Regions from separate parts of the Homo sapiens genome. Here region 2 is linked to region 1. Evidence: promoter capture Hi-C in human tissues and cell types (Jung and others, 2019). All regions are on one chromosome and are shown on one strand. Each heading gives the region's core, a stretch centred on a gene start or on the middle of the fragment in contact. The rest is flanking DNA. Distances are from core to core; before and after follow the strand shown. Region 1 holds the start of FXN (frataxin). Region 2 overlaps SMC5-DT (SMC5 divergent transcript).

Evidence for each region. The method cuts DNA at HindIII sites, captures the fragments that hold promoters and counts their contacts. A contact is called where the count stands out against the background at its distance.
Region 2: a fragment that was not itself captured here is called in contact with the fragment with the promoter of FXN in region 1 in 1 of the 25 tissues and cell types used here (dorsolateral prefrontal cortex).

The regions. Positions count from the first base shown.
Region 1 is chr9:69,031,213-69,037,416 of GRCh38, forward strand. FXN (frataxin) reads left to right here and starts at 4,540. Exons shown (of 5, transcript NM_000144.5): 1 at 4,540-4,735. The coding sequence starts at 4,571. RefSeq lists silencers at 4,429-4,898, 5,481-5,775 and an enhancer at 5,059-5,108. The HindIII fragment of the contact is 19,714 bases long and covers 1-6,204 here.
Region 2 is chr9:70,236,575-70,243,011 of GRCh38, forward strand. The region is part of intron 2 of SMC5-DT (SMC5 divergent transcript); the gene reads right to left. Among named protein-coding and RNA genes, the nearest start is that of SMC5-DT, 19 kb to the right of the region's middle. The HindIII fragment of the contact is 3,655 bases long and covers 2,858-6,437 here.

The sequences.
Region 1 (6,204 bases), core at 3,290-5,789:
ACTGGCCAATTGTGTTACCCCATTCCCTTAGCAACAGTGATTGCTACTGAAGAAACAGGAGGCCAACAAAGAATATCACTCATTCACCAGTAGAGTGTCTATGTCAGAGATATTAGATAAACAGGAAAACTAACAATTACATTGCAGGCTGTGGAAACAGAGAGAGGTACCTAAGGCACACCTGTGGGAATATGAAAGTTTGGTTTCATAAAAGGATTCTGGAGGAAGTCACCTCTGACATTTGAGTTGAGTCCTACAGGATATGAAGAAAGTAGCCCCATGTTCCGGTTACTATGGCTGTGTAATAAATTACCTAAAACATACTGGATTAAAGCTATGAAAACATCTTTTCTGCCCAGAGATTCTGTGGGCCTGAAATTCACATGGAACACATAAGGCATACCTTGTTTCTGCTCCATGATGTCTAAGGATTCAGCTGGAAGACTGGGAGGCTGGGGGCTGGAATTTATCTGAAGAATGACTCATTTACATGTCTACTGGTTGACCCTGGCTGTTGGCTGAGGGGGCCTCAGCTCTCTCTACATTGTTTCTCTACTTTGGCTAGTTTGGATTTCCTCAAAACATGATGGCTGGTCCTCAGTGTCAGCATCCCAAAAAGAGAATGCCGGACACAGTGGCTCACACCTGTAACCTCAGCAATTTGGGAGGCTGAGGTGGGAGGTTGCTTGAGTTCAGGAGTTCAAGACCAGCCTGGGCAACATAGTGAGACTCTGTCTCTACCAAAAATTTTTAAAATTTTAAAAATCAGCCAGGTGTGGTTATGCACACCTATAGTCCCAGTTACTTAGGAGGCTGAGGCAGGAGGATCACTTGATTCCAGGAGGTCAAGGCTGCTGTGAGCTATGACCACACCACTGCATTTCAGCCTGGGTAACAGAATGAGACTCTGTTTCAAACAAACAAAAACCCAAAAAAAAAAAAAAGAGAGAGAGAGGGAGTTAGAAGGAAGATGCATCATTTTTATGACCTGGACTTGGAAGTCACCAAGCAGCACTTCTGCAGTACCCTGTTGGTTGGAATAGTTGTAGCCCAAACCCGAATTCGAAGGGAGGAGAATAGATAACATCCCTGGGTGACAGGAATGTCAAAGTCCCAAACAGCATATGACATGTGACAAATATTGGTGTGGCCTTCTTTGGAAGATCCAATCTTCCATACCAGGCAAAGGGATGGAAGACTAAGGAACAACATGAGGGATAGCCAGAGAGGGAAAAAGCATCACTTGTTCTAGGAACTACAAATAGCTTGAAGAAGCAAAGATGTCTAGATGCCTCCCAATATGCAGAGTGGGGTGTACAGAAGAGAGTGGTAAGGGCGCTGGGAGAGCTAAGGTGGGCAAGAGAGCTTCCTCTGTCATGCTAAGAAAGTTGGAATTTATCTTGATGGTGGTGAAAGCAGAGGGCTATGGTTAGATTCACATTTGAGATTTAGATTTTTAGATTTAAAATGATCACCCTGGTGACACTGGCTTAACTCACAATTTTGCCCAAGGCCTATGCTACCACAGTGCTTCTGAAACTTTAAAGCACATTAGAATCACCTGGAGGTCTTGTTAAACCATGGATTGCTGGGCCTTGAAACCCCAGAGATTCTGATTCAGTAGATCGAGAATAGGGCCTGAGAATTTGTATTTCTAACAAGTTTCCAGGTGATGCTGAGGCTGCTGGCCCAGCGACCACATTTGATAATCATAGCCCTCTGATAAATCCTATCAAAATATCCTAATGGCAGAGCAAGGGAATTCTGGTGATATCCTCCCCTACCCATAACCTGACAGCTATTAGGATCTGCCTACTTGAGGCTAAAAGCAACCAAGAGAGGAACAGCTACAGTGTACCACAGAGTCCCTCAACATCTTTGCCCACGCCACGGTGCCCCAGCTTCTTACCAAGTGTGCCTGATTCCTCTTGACTACCTCCAAGGAAGTGGAGAAAGACAAGTTCTTGCGAAGCCTTCGTCTTCTCTGATATGCTATTCTATGTCTATTTCTTTGGCCAAAAAGATGGGGCAATGATATCAACTTTGCAGGGAGCTGGAGCATTTGCTAGTGACCTTTCTATGCCAGAACTTGCTAAGCATGCTAGCTAATAATGATGTAGCACAGGGTGCGGTGGCTCACGCCTGTAATCTCAGCACTTTGGGCGGCCGAGGCGGGCGGATCACCTGAGGTCAGGAGTTCGAGACCAGCCTGGCCAACATGATGAAACCCCATCTCTACTAAAAATACAAAAATTAGCCAGGCGTGGTGGTGGGCACCTGCAATCCCAGCTACTCTGGAGGCTGAGACAGAATCTCTTGAACCCAGGAGGTGGAGATTGCAGTGAGCAGAGATGGCACCACTGCATTCCAGCCTGGGCAACAAAGCAAGACTCTGTCTCAAATAATAATAATAATAATAACTAATGATGCAGCTTTCTCTCTCTGAGTATATAATGCAGTTCTGATGATGTGAGGAAGGGCCTCACTGTTGGTGTGGCAGAGTCTGAGACCATGGCTGGCAATGAAAACACTACCCTTTGATGCCTATGGGCTCTCCCTTTATGGTTTCAAGGAGGGCTTCTCAATCTTGGCAGAATTTTGGACTGGATAGTTCTTTGTTGCACAGGTGGGGGGCTGTCCTGCACATCACAGGATGTTTCATCCCTGGCCTCTACCTACTAGATGCCAGTAGAACATACCCACCCCACAGCTGCCTGTTGTGACAATCAAAAGCATCTCCAGATACTTTGCAGGGGGAAAATGATTTCTCCAGGCCTGGCATATACATAACAGTATTTAAGCAGCTGCCTAGAATTAATTAAACACAGAAGGATGTCTCTCATCCAGAATGCCCTGGACCACCTCTTTGATAGGCAATCAGATCCCACCTCCTCCACCCTATTTTTGAAGGCCCTGTGCCAACACCACTTCTTCCATGAATACTTCCTTGATTCCCCCATCCCTAGCTCTATATAAATCTCCCACTCAACACTCACACCTGTTAGTTTACATTCCTCTTGACACTTGTCATTTAGCATCCTAAGTATGTAAACATGTCTCTCTTCACGATTCACAAAGTGGCTTTGGAAGAACTTTAGTACCTTCCCATCTTCTCTGCCATGGAAAGTGTACACAACTGACATTTTCTTTTTTTTTAAGACAGTATCTTGCTATGATGGCCGGGCTGGAATGCTGTGGCTATTCACAGGCACAATCATAGCTCACTGCAGCCTTGAGCTCCCAGGCTCAAGTGATCCTCCCGCCTCAGCCTCCTGAGTAGCTGAGATCACAGGCATGCACTACCACACTCGGCTCACATTTGACATCCTCTAAAGCATATATAAAATGTGAAGAAAACTTTCACAATTTGCATCCCTTTGTAATATGTAACAGAAATAAAATTCTCTTTTAAAATCTATCAACAATAGGCAAGGCACGGTGGCTCACGCCTGTCGTCTCAGCACTTTGTGAGGCCCAGGCGGGCAGATCGTTTGAGCCTAGAAGTTCAAGACCACCCTGGGCAACATAGCGAAACCCCCTTTCTACAAAAAATACAAAAACTAGCTGGGTGTGGTGGTGCACACCTGTAGTCCCAGCTACTTGGAAGGCTGAAATGGGAAGACTGCTTGAGCCCGGGAGGGAGAAGTTGCAGTAAGCCAGGACCACACCACTGCACTCCAGCCTGGGCAACAGAGTGAGACTCTGTCTCAAACAAACAAATAAATGAGGCGGGTGGATCACGAGGTCAGTAGATCGAGACCATCCTGGCTAACACGGTGAAACCCGTCTCTACTAAAAAAAAAAAAAAATACAAAAAATTAGCCAGGCATGGTGGCGGGCGCCTGTAGTCCCAGTTACTCGGGAGGCTGAGGCAGGAGAATGGCGTGAAACCGGGAGGCAGAGCTTGCAGTGAGCCGAGATCGCACCACTGCCCTCCAGCCTGGGCGACAGAGCGAGACTCCGTCTCAATCAATCAATCAATCAATAAAATCTATTAACAATATTTATTGTGCACTTAACAGGAACATGCCCTGTCCAAAAAAAACTTTACAGGGCTTAACTCATTTTATCCTTACCACAATCCTATGAAGTAGGAACTTTTATAAAACGCATTTTATAAACAAGGCACAGAGAGGTTAATTAACTTGCCCTCTGGTCACACAGCTAGGAAGTGGGCAGAGTACAGATTTACACAAGGCATCCGTCTCCTGGCCCCACATACCCAACTGCTGTAAACCCATACCGGCGGCCAAGCAGCCTCAATTTGTGCATGCACCCACTTCCCAGCAAGACAGCAGCTCCCAAGTTCCTCCTGTTTAGAATTTTAGAAGCGGCGGGCCACCAGGCTGCAGTCTCCCTTGGGTCAGGGGTCCTGGTTGCACTCCGTGCTTTGCACAAAGCAGGCTCTCCATTTTTGTTAAATGCACGAATAGTGCTAAGCTGGGAAGTTCTTCCTGAGGTCTAACCTCTAGCTGCTCCCCCACAGAAGAGTGCCTGCGGCCAGTGGCCACCAGGGGTCGCCGCAGCACCCAGCGCTGGAGGGCGGAGCGGGCGGCAGACCCGGAGCAGCATGTGGACTCTCGGGCGCCGCGCAGTAGCCGGCCTCCTGGCGTCACCCAGCCCAGCCCAGGCCCAGACCCTCACCCGGGTCCCGCGGCCGGCAGAGTTGGCCCCACTCTGCGGCCGCCGTGGCCTGCGCACCGACATCGATGCGACCTGCACGCCCCGCCGCGCAGTAAGTATCCGCGCCGGGAACAGCCGCGGGCCGCACGCCGCGGGCCGCACGCCGCACGCCTGCGCAGGGAGGCGCCGCGCACGCCGGGGTCGCTCCGGGTACGCGCGCTGGACTAGCTCACCCCGCTCCTTCTCAGGGCGGCCCGGCGGAAGCGGCCTTGCAACTCCCTTCTCTGGTTCTCCCGGTTGCATTTACACTGGCTTCTGCTTTCCGAAGGAAAAGGGGACATTTTGTCCTGCGGTGCGACTGCGGGTCAAGGCACGGGCGAAGGCAGGGCAGGCTGGTGGAGGGGACCGGTTCCGAGGGGTGTGCGGCTGTCTCCATGCTTGTCACTTCTCTGCGATAACTTGTTTCAGTAATATTAATAGATGGTATCTGCTAGTATATACATACACATAATGTGTGTGTCTGTGTGTATCTGTATATAGCGTGTGTGTTGTGTGTGTGTGTTTGCGCGCACGGGCGCGCGCACACCTAATATTTTCAAGGCTGGATTTTTTTGAACGAAATGCTTTCCTGGAACGAGGTGAAACTTTCAGAGCTGCAGAATAGCTAGAGCAGCAGGGGCCCTGGCTTTTGGAAACTGACCCGACCTTTATTCCAGATTCTGCCCCACTCCGCAGAGCTGTGTGACCTTGGGGGATTCCCCTAACCTCTCTGAGACGTGGCTTTGTTTTCTGTAGGGAGAAGATAAAGGTGACGCCCATTTTGCGGACCTGGTGTGAGGATTAAATGGGAATAACATAGATAAAGTCTTCAGAACTTCAAATTAGTTCCCCTTTCTTCCTTTGGGGGGTACAAAGAAATATCTGACCCAGTTACGCCACGGCTTGAAAGGAGGAAACCCAAAGAATGGCTGTGGGGATGAGGAAGATTCCTCAAGGGGAGGACATGGTATTTAATGAGGGTCTTGAAGATGCCAAGGAAGTGGTAGAGGGTGTTTCACGAGGAGGGAACCGTCTGGGCAAAGGCCAGGAAGGCGGAAGGGGATCCCTTCAGAGTGGCTGGTACGCCGCATGTATTAGGGGAGATGAAAGAGGCAGGCCACGTCCAAGCCATATTTGTGTTGCTCTCCGGAGTTTGTACTTTAGGCTTGAACTTCCCACACGTGTTATTTGGCCCACATTGTGTTTGAAGAAACTTTGGGATTGGTTGCCAGTGCTTAAAAGTTAGGACTTAGAAAATGGATTTCCTGGCAGGACGCGGTGGCTCATGCCCATAATCTCAGCACTTTGGGAGGCCTAGGAAGGTGGATCACCTGAGGTCCGGAGTTCAAGACTAACCTGGCCAACATGGTGAAACCCAGTATCTACTAAAAAATACAAAAAAAAAAAAAAAAGAAGAAGAAGAAGAAGAAAATAAAGAAAAGTTAGCCGGGCGTGGTGTCGCGCGCCTGTAATCCCAGCTACTCCAGAGGCTGCGGCAGGAGAATCGCTTGAGCCCGGGAGGCAGAGGTTGCATTAAGCCAA
Region 2 (6,437 bases), core at 3,435-5,934, 1.2 Mb after region 1:
ATTAGACAGATCAACAAGACAGAAAGTTAACAAGGATATCCAGGAATTCAATTCAGCTCTGTACCAAATGGACCTAATAGACATCTACAGAACTCTCCACCCCAAATCAACAGAATATACATTCTTCTCAGCATCACATCGCACCTATTCCAAAATTGACCACATAGTTGGAAGTAAAGCACTCCTCAGCAAATGTAAAAGAACAGAAATTATAACAAACTGTCTCTCAGACCACAGTGCAATCAAACTAGAACTCAGGATTAAGAAACTCACTCAAAACCGCTCAACTACATGGAAACTAAACAACCTGTTCCTGAATGACTACTGGGTACATAACGAAATGAAGGCAGAAACTAAGATGTTCTTTGAAATCAACGAGAACAAAGACACAACATACCAGAATCTCTGGGACACATTTAAAGAAGTGTGTAGAGGGAAATTTATAGCACTAAATGCCCACAAGAGAAAGCAAGAAAGATCTGAAATTGACACCCTAACATCACAATTAAAAGAACTAGAAAAGCAAGAGCAAACACATTCAAAAGCTAGCAGAAGGCAAGAAACAACTAAGATCAGAGCGGAACTGAAGGAGATAGAGACACGAAAAACCCTTCAAAAAATCAATGAATCCAGGAGCTGGTTTTTTGAAAAGATCAACAAAATTGATAGATTGCTAGCAAGACTAATAAAGAAGAAAAGACAGAAGAATCAAATAGATGCAATAAAAAATGAAAAAGGGGATATCACCAATGATCCCACAGAAATACAAACTACCATCAGAGAATACTATAAACACCTCTATGCAAATAAACTAGAAAATCTAGAAGAAATGTATAAATTCCTCGACACATACATCCTCCCAAGACTAAACCAGGAAGAAGCTCAATCTCTGAATAGACCAATAACAGGCTCTGAAATTCAGGCAATAATTAATAGCTTACCAACCAAAAAAAGTACAGGACCAGATGGATGCACAGCTGAATTCTACCAGAGGTACAAGGAGGAGCTGGTACCATTCCTTCTGAACCTATTCCAATGAACAGAAAAAGAGGGAATCCTTCCTAACTCATTTTAGGAGGCCAGCATCATCCTGATACCAAAGCCTGGCAGAGACACAACAAAAAAAGAGAATTTTAGACCAATATCCCTGATGAACATCGATGTAAAAATCCTCAATAAAATACTGGCAAACCGAATCCAGAAGCACATCAAAAAGCTTATCCACCATGATCAAGTGGTCTTCATCCCTGGGATGCAAAGCTGGTTCAATATATGCAAATCAATAAACGTAATCCAGTATATAAACAGAACCAAAGACAAAAACCACATGATTATCTCAACAGATAAGGAAAGGCCTTTGAAAAATTCAACAGCCCTTCATGCTAAAAACTCTCAATAAATTAGGTATTGATGGGACGTATCTCAAAATAATAAGAGCTATTTATGACACACCCACAGCCAATATCATACTGAATGGGCAAAAACTGGGAGCATTCCCTTTGAAAACTGGCACAAGACAGGGATGCCCTCTCTCACCACTACTATTCAGCATAGTGTTGGAAGTTCTGGCCAGGGCAATCAGGCAAGAGAAAGAAATAAAGGGTATTAAATTAGGAAAAGAGGAAGTCAAATTGTCCCTGTTTGCAGATGACATGATTGTGTATCTATAAAACCCCATTGTCTCAGTCCAAAATCTCCTTAGGCTGATAAGCAACTTCAGCAAAGTCTCAGGATACAAAACCAATGTCCAAAAATCACAAGCATTCTTATACACCAATAACAGACAAACAGAGAGCCAAATCATGAGTGAACTCCCATTCACAATTGCTTCAAAGAGAATAAAATACCTAGGAATCCAACTTACAAGGGATGTGAAGGACCTCTTCAAGGAGAACTACAAACCACTGCTCAATGAAATAAAAGAGGACACAAACAATTGGAAAAACATTCCATGCTCATGGATAGGAAGAATCAATATTGTGGAAATGGTCATACTGCCCAAGGTAATTTATACATTCAATGCTATCCCCATCAAGCTACCAATTACTTTCTTCACAGAATTGGAAAAAACTATGTTAAATTTCATATGGAACCAAAAAAGAGCCCACATTGCCAAGACAATCCTAAGCCAAAAGAACAAAGCTGGAGGCATCACGCTACCTGACTCCAAACTATACTACAAGGCTACATTTACCAAAACAGCATGGTACTGGTACCAAAACAGATATGGACCAATGGAACAGAACAGAGCCCTCAGAAATAACACCACACATCTACAACTCTCTGATCTTTGACAAACCTGACAAAAAAAAGAAATGGGGAAAGAATTCCCTATTTAACAAATGGTGTCGGGAAAACTGGCTAGCCATATGTAGAAAGCTGAAACTGGATTCCTTCCTTATACCTTATACAAAAATTAATTCAACAGAGATTAAAGACTTAACTGTTAGACCTAAAACCATAAAAGCCCTAGAAGAAAACCTAGGCAATACCATTCAGGACATAGGCATGGGCAAGGACTTCATGTCGAAAACACCAAAAGCAATGGCAACAAAAGCCAAAATTGACAAATGGGATCTAATTAAACTAAAGAGCTTCTGCACAGCAAAAGAAACTACCATCAGAGTGAACAGGAACCTGCAGAATGGGAGAAAATTTTTGCAATCTACTCATCTGACAAAGGGCTAATATCCAGAATCTACAAAGAACTTAAACAAATTTACAAGAAAAAAAACTCCATCAAAAAGTGGGCAAAAGATATGAACGGACACTTCCCAAAAGAAGACATTTATGCAGCCAACAAACATATGAAAAAAAAAGCTCATCATCAGTGGTCATTAGAGAAATGCAAATCAAAACCATGAGAAGATACCATCTCACACCAGTCCGAATGGCGATCATTAAAAAGTCAGGAAGCAACAGATGCTGGAGAGGATGTGGAGAAATAGAAATGTTTTTACACTGTTGGTGGGAGTGTAAATTAGTTCAACCATTGTGGAAGACAGTGTGGCGATTCCTCAAGGATCTAGAACTGGAAATATTATTTGACCCAGCCATCGTATTATTGAGTATACACCCAAAGGATTATAAATCATTCTACTATAAAGACCATGCACACGTATGTTTATTGTGGCACTGTTCACAATAGCAAATACTTGGAACCAACCCAAATGCCCATCAATAATAGACTGGATAAAGAAAATGTGGCACATATACACCATGGAATACTATGCAGCCATAAAAAAGAATGAGTTCATGTCCTTTGGAGGGACATGGATGACACTGGAAACCATCATTCTCAGCAAACTAACACAAGAACCGAAAACCAAATGCTGCATGTTCTCACTCATAAGTGAGAGTTGATCAATGAGAACACATGGACACAGGGAAGGGAACATCACACACCGGGGCCTGTTTGAGGGTGGGGGCCTAGGGGAGGGACAGCATTAGGAGAAATACCTAATGTGGATGACAGGTTGATGAGTACAGCAAATGACCATGGCATGTGTATACCTATGTAACAAACCTGCACGTTCTCCACATGCACTAAAGAACTTGAAGTATAATTAAAAAAAAGAAGAAATCATGTATTTTATAGATATGCATATAAATGTATGACAATATGTGTATATATATACGTATCATGGTAAAGTACTATGTATCAAAATTTGTGAGGTGTGGCTAAATTAATACAGAGAGAATTTTATTACCTTAAAAAATTAACTTAAGAGGAGGGCGTTCCAAGATGGCCAAACAGGAACAGCTCTAGTCTGCAGCTCCCAGCATGATCAATGCAGAAGACGGGTGATTTCTGCATTTCCAACTGAGGTACCTGGTTCATCTCATTGGGACTGGTTGGACAGTGGGTGCAGCCCACAGAGGGCAAGCTGAAGCAGGGCGAGGCATTGCCTCACTCAGGAATTGCAAGGGGTTGGGGGATTTCCCTTTCCTAGCCAAGGGAAGCCGTGACAGACCACCTGGAAAAACGGGACACTGCCACCCAAATACTGCGCTTTTCCCAAGGTCTTAGCAACCGGCAGACAAGGAGATTCTCTCCTGTGCCTGGCTTAGCAGGTCCCACGCCCACAGAGCCTTGCTCACTGCTAGCGCAGCAGTCTGAGATCGAACTGCGAAGGGGGCAGCCTGGCTGGGGGAGGGGCATCCGCCATTGCTGAGGCTTGAGTAGGTATACAAAGTGGCTGGGAAGTTCGAACTGGGAGGAACCCACCGCAGCTCAACAAGGCCTACTGCTCTAGACTCCACCTTTGTGGGCAGGGCATAGCTGAATAAAAGGCAGCAGACAACTTCTGCAACTTAAACGTCCCTGTCTGACAGCTCTGAAGAGAACAGTGGTTCTCCCAGCACAGTGTCTGAGCTCTGAGAACAGACAGACAGCTTCCTCAAGTGGGTCCCTGACCCCCATGTAGCCTAACTGGGAAACACCTCCAGTAGGGTCCAACAGACACCTCATATAGGCAGTTGCCCCTCTGAGACAAAGCTTCCAAAGGAAGGATCAGATAGCAGTATTTGCTGTTCTGCAATACTTGCTGTTCTGCAGCCTCCACTGGTGATACCCAGGCAAACAGAGTCAGGAATGGACCTTCAGCAAACTCCAACAGACCTGCAGCTGAGGGACCTGACTGTTAGAAGAAAACTAACAAACAGAAAGGAATAGCATCAACATCAACAAAAAGGTAATCTACACCAAAATCCTATCTGTAGGTCACCAACATAAAAGACCAAAGGTAGCTAAAATCATAAAGATGGGGAGAAACCAGAGCAGAAAAGCTGAAAATTCTAAAAATCAGAGCACCTCTTCTCCTCCAAAGGATCATAGCTCCTCACCAGCAACGGAACAAAGCTGGATGGAGAATGACTTTGATGAGCTGACAGAAGTAGGCTTCAGAAGGTCGGTAATAACAAATTTCTTGGAGCTAAAGGAGGATGTTCGAACCCATCGCAAAGACGTTAAAAACCTTGAAAAGAGATTAGACGAATGGCTAACTAGAATAAACAGTGTAGAGAAGATCTTAAATGATCCGATGGAGATGAAAACCATGGCACGGGAACTTCACGACACATGCAGAAGCTTCAAGAGCTGATTCAATCAAGTGGAAGAAAGGGTATCAGTGATTGAAGATCAAATTAATGAAATAAAGCAAGAAGACAAGGTTAGAGAAAAAAGAGTAAAAGAAACAAACAAAGCCATCAAGAAATATGGAACTCTGTGAAAAGACCAAATCTACATTTGATTGGTGTACCTGAAAGTGGTGGGGAGAATGGAACCAAGCTGGAAAACGGTCTTCAGGATATTATCCAGGAGAACTTCCCCAACCTAGCAAGACAGGCCAACATTCAAATTCAGGAAATACAGAGAACACCACAAAGATACTCCTCAACAAGAGCAACTCCAAGACACATAACTGTCAGATTCTCCAAGGTTGAAATGAAGGAAAAAGTGTTAAGGGCAGCCAGAGGGAAAGGTCGAGTTACCCAAAAAGGGAAGCCCATCAAACAAACAGCGGATCTCTCGGCAGAAAACCTACAAGCTAGAAGAGAGTGGGGGCCAGTATTCAACATTCTTAAAGAATTTTCAACCCAGAATTTCATTTCCAGCCAAACTAAGCTTCGTAAGTGAAGGAGAAATAGAATCCTTTAAAGACAAGCAAATGCTCAGAGATTTTGTCACCACCAGGCCTGCCCTACAAGAGCTCCTGAAGGAAGCACTAAACATGGAAAGAAACTGGTACAAGCCACTGAAAAACCATGCCAAATTGTAAAGACCATTGATGCTATGACGAAACTGCATCAATTAACGGGCATAATAACCAGTAAACATCATAATGACAGGATCAAATTCACACGTAACAATATTAACCTTAAATGTAAATAGGCTGAATGCGCCAATTGAAAGACACAGACTGGCAAATTGGATAAACAGTCAAGACATCAGTGTGCTGTATTCAGGAGACCCATCTCACATGCAAAGACGCACATAGGTTCAAAATAAAGGGAGGGAGGAAAATTTACCAAGCAAATCGAAAGCAAAGAAAACCAGGGGTTGCAATCCTAGTCTCTGATAAAACAGACTTTAAACCAACAAAGATCAAAAGAAACAAAGAGCCCATTACATAATGGTAAAGGGATCAATTCAACAAGAAGAGCTAACTATCCTAAACATATATGCACCCAATACAGGAACAACCAGATTCATAAAGCAAGTCCTTAGAGACCTACGAAGAGACTTAGACTCTCACACAATAATAATGGGAGAATTTAACACCCCATTGTCAGTATTAGACAGATCGATGAGACAGAAGGTTAAAAAAGGGTATCCAGGACTTGAACCCAGCTCTGCAACAAGCAGACCTAATAGATACCTACAGAACCCTCCACCCCAAATCAACAGAATATACATTCTTCTCAGCACCACATCG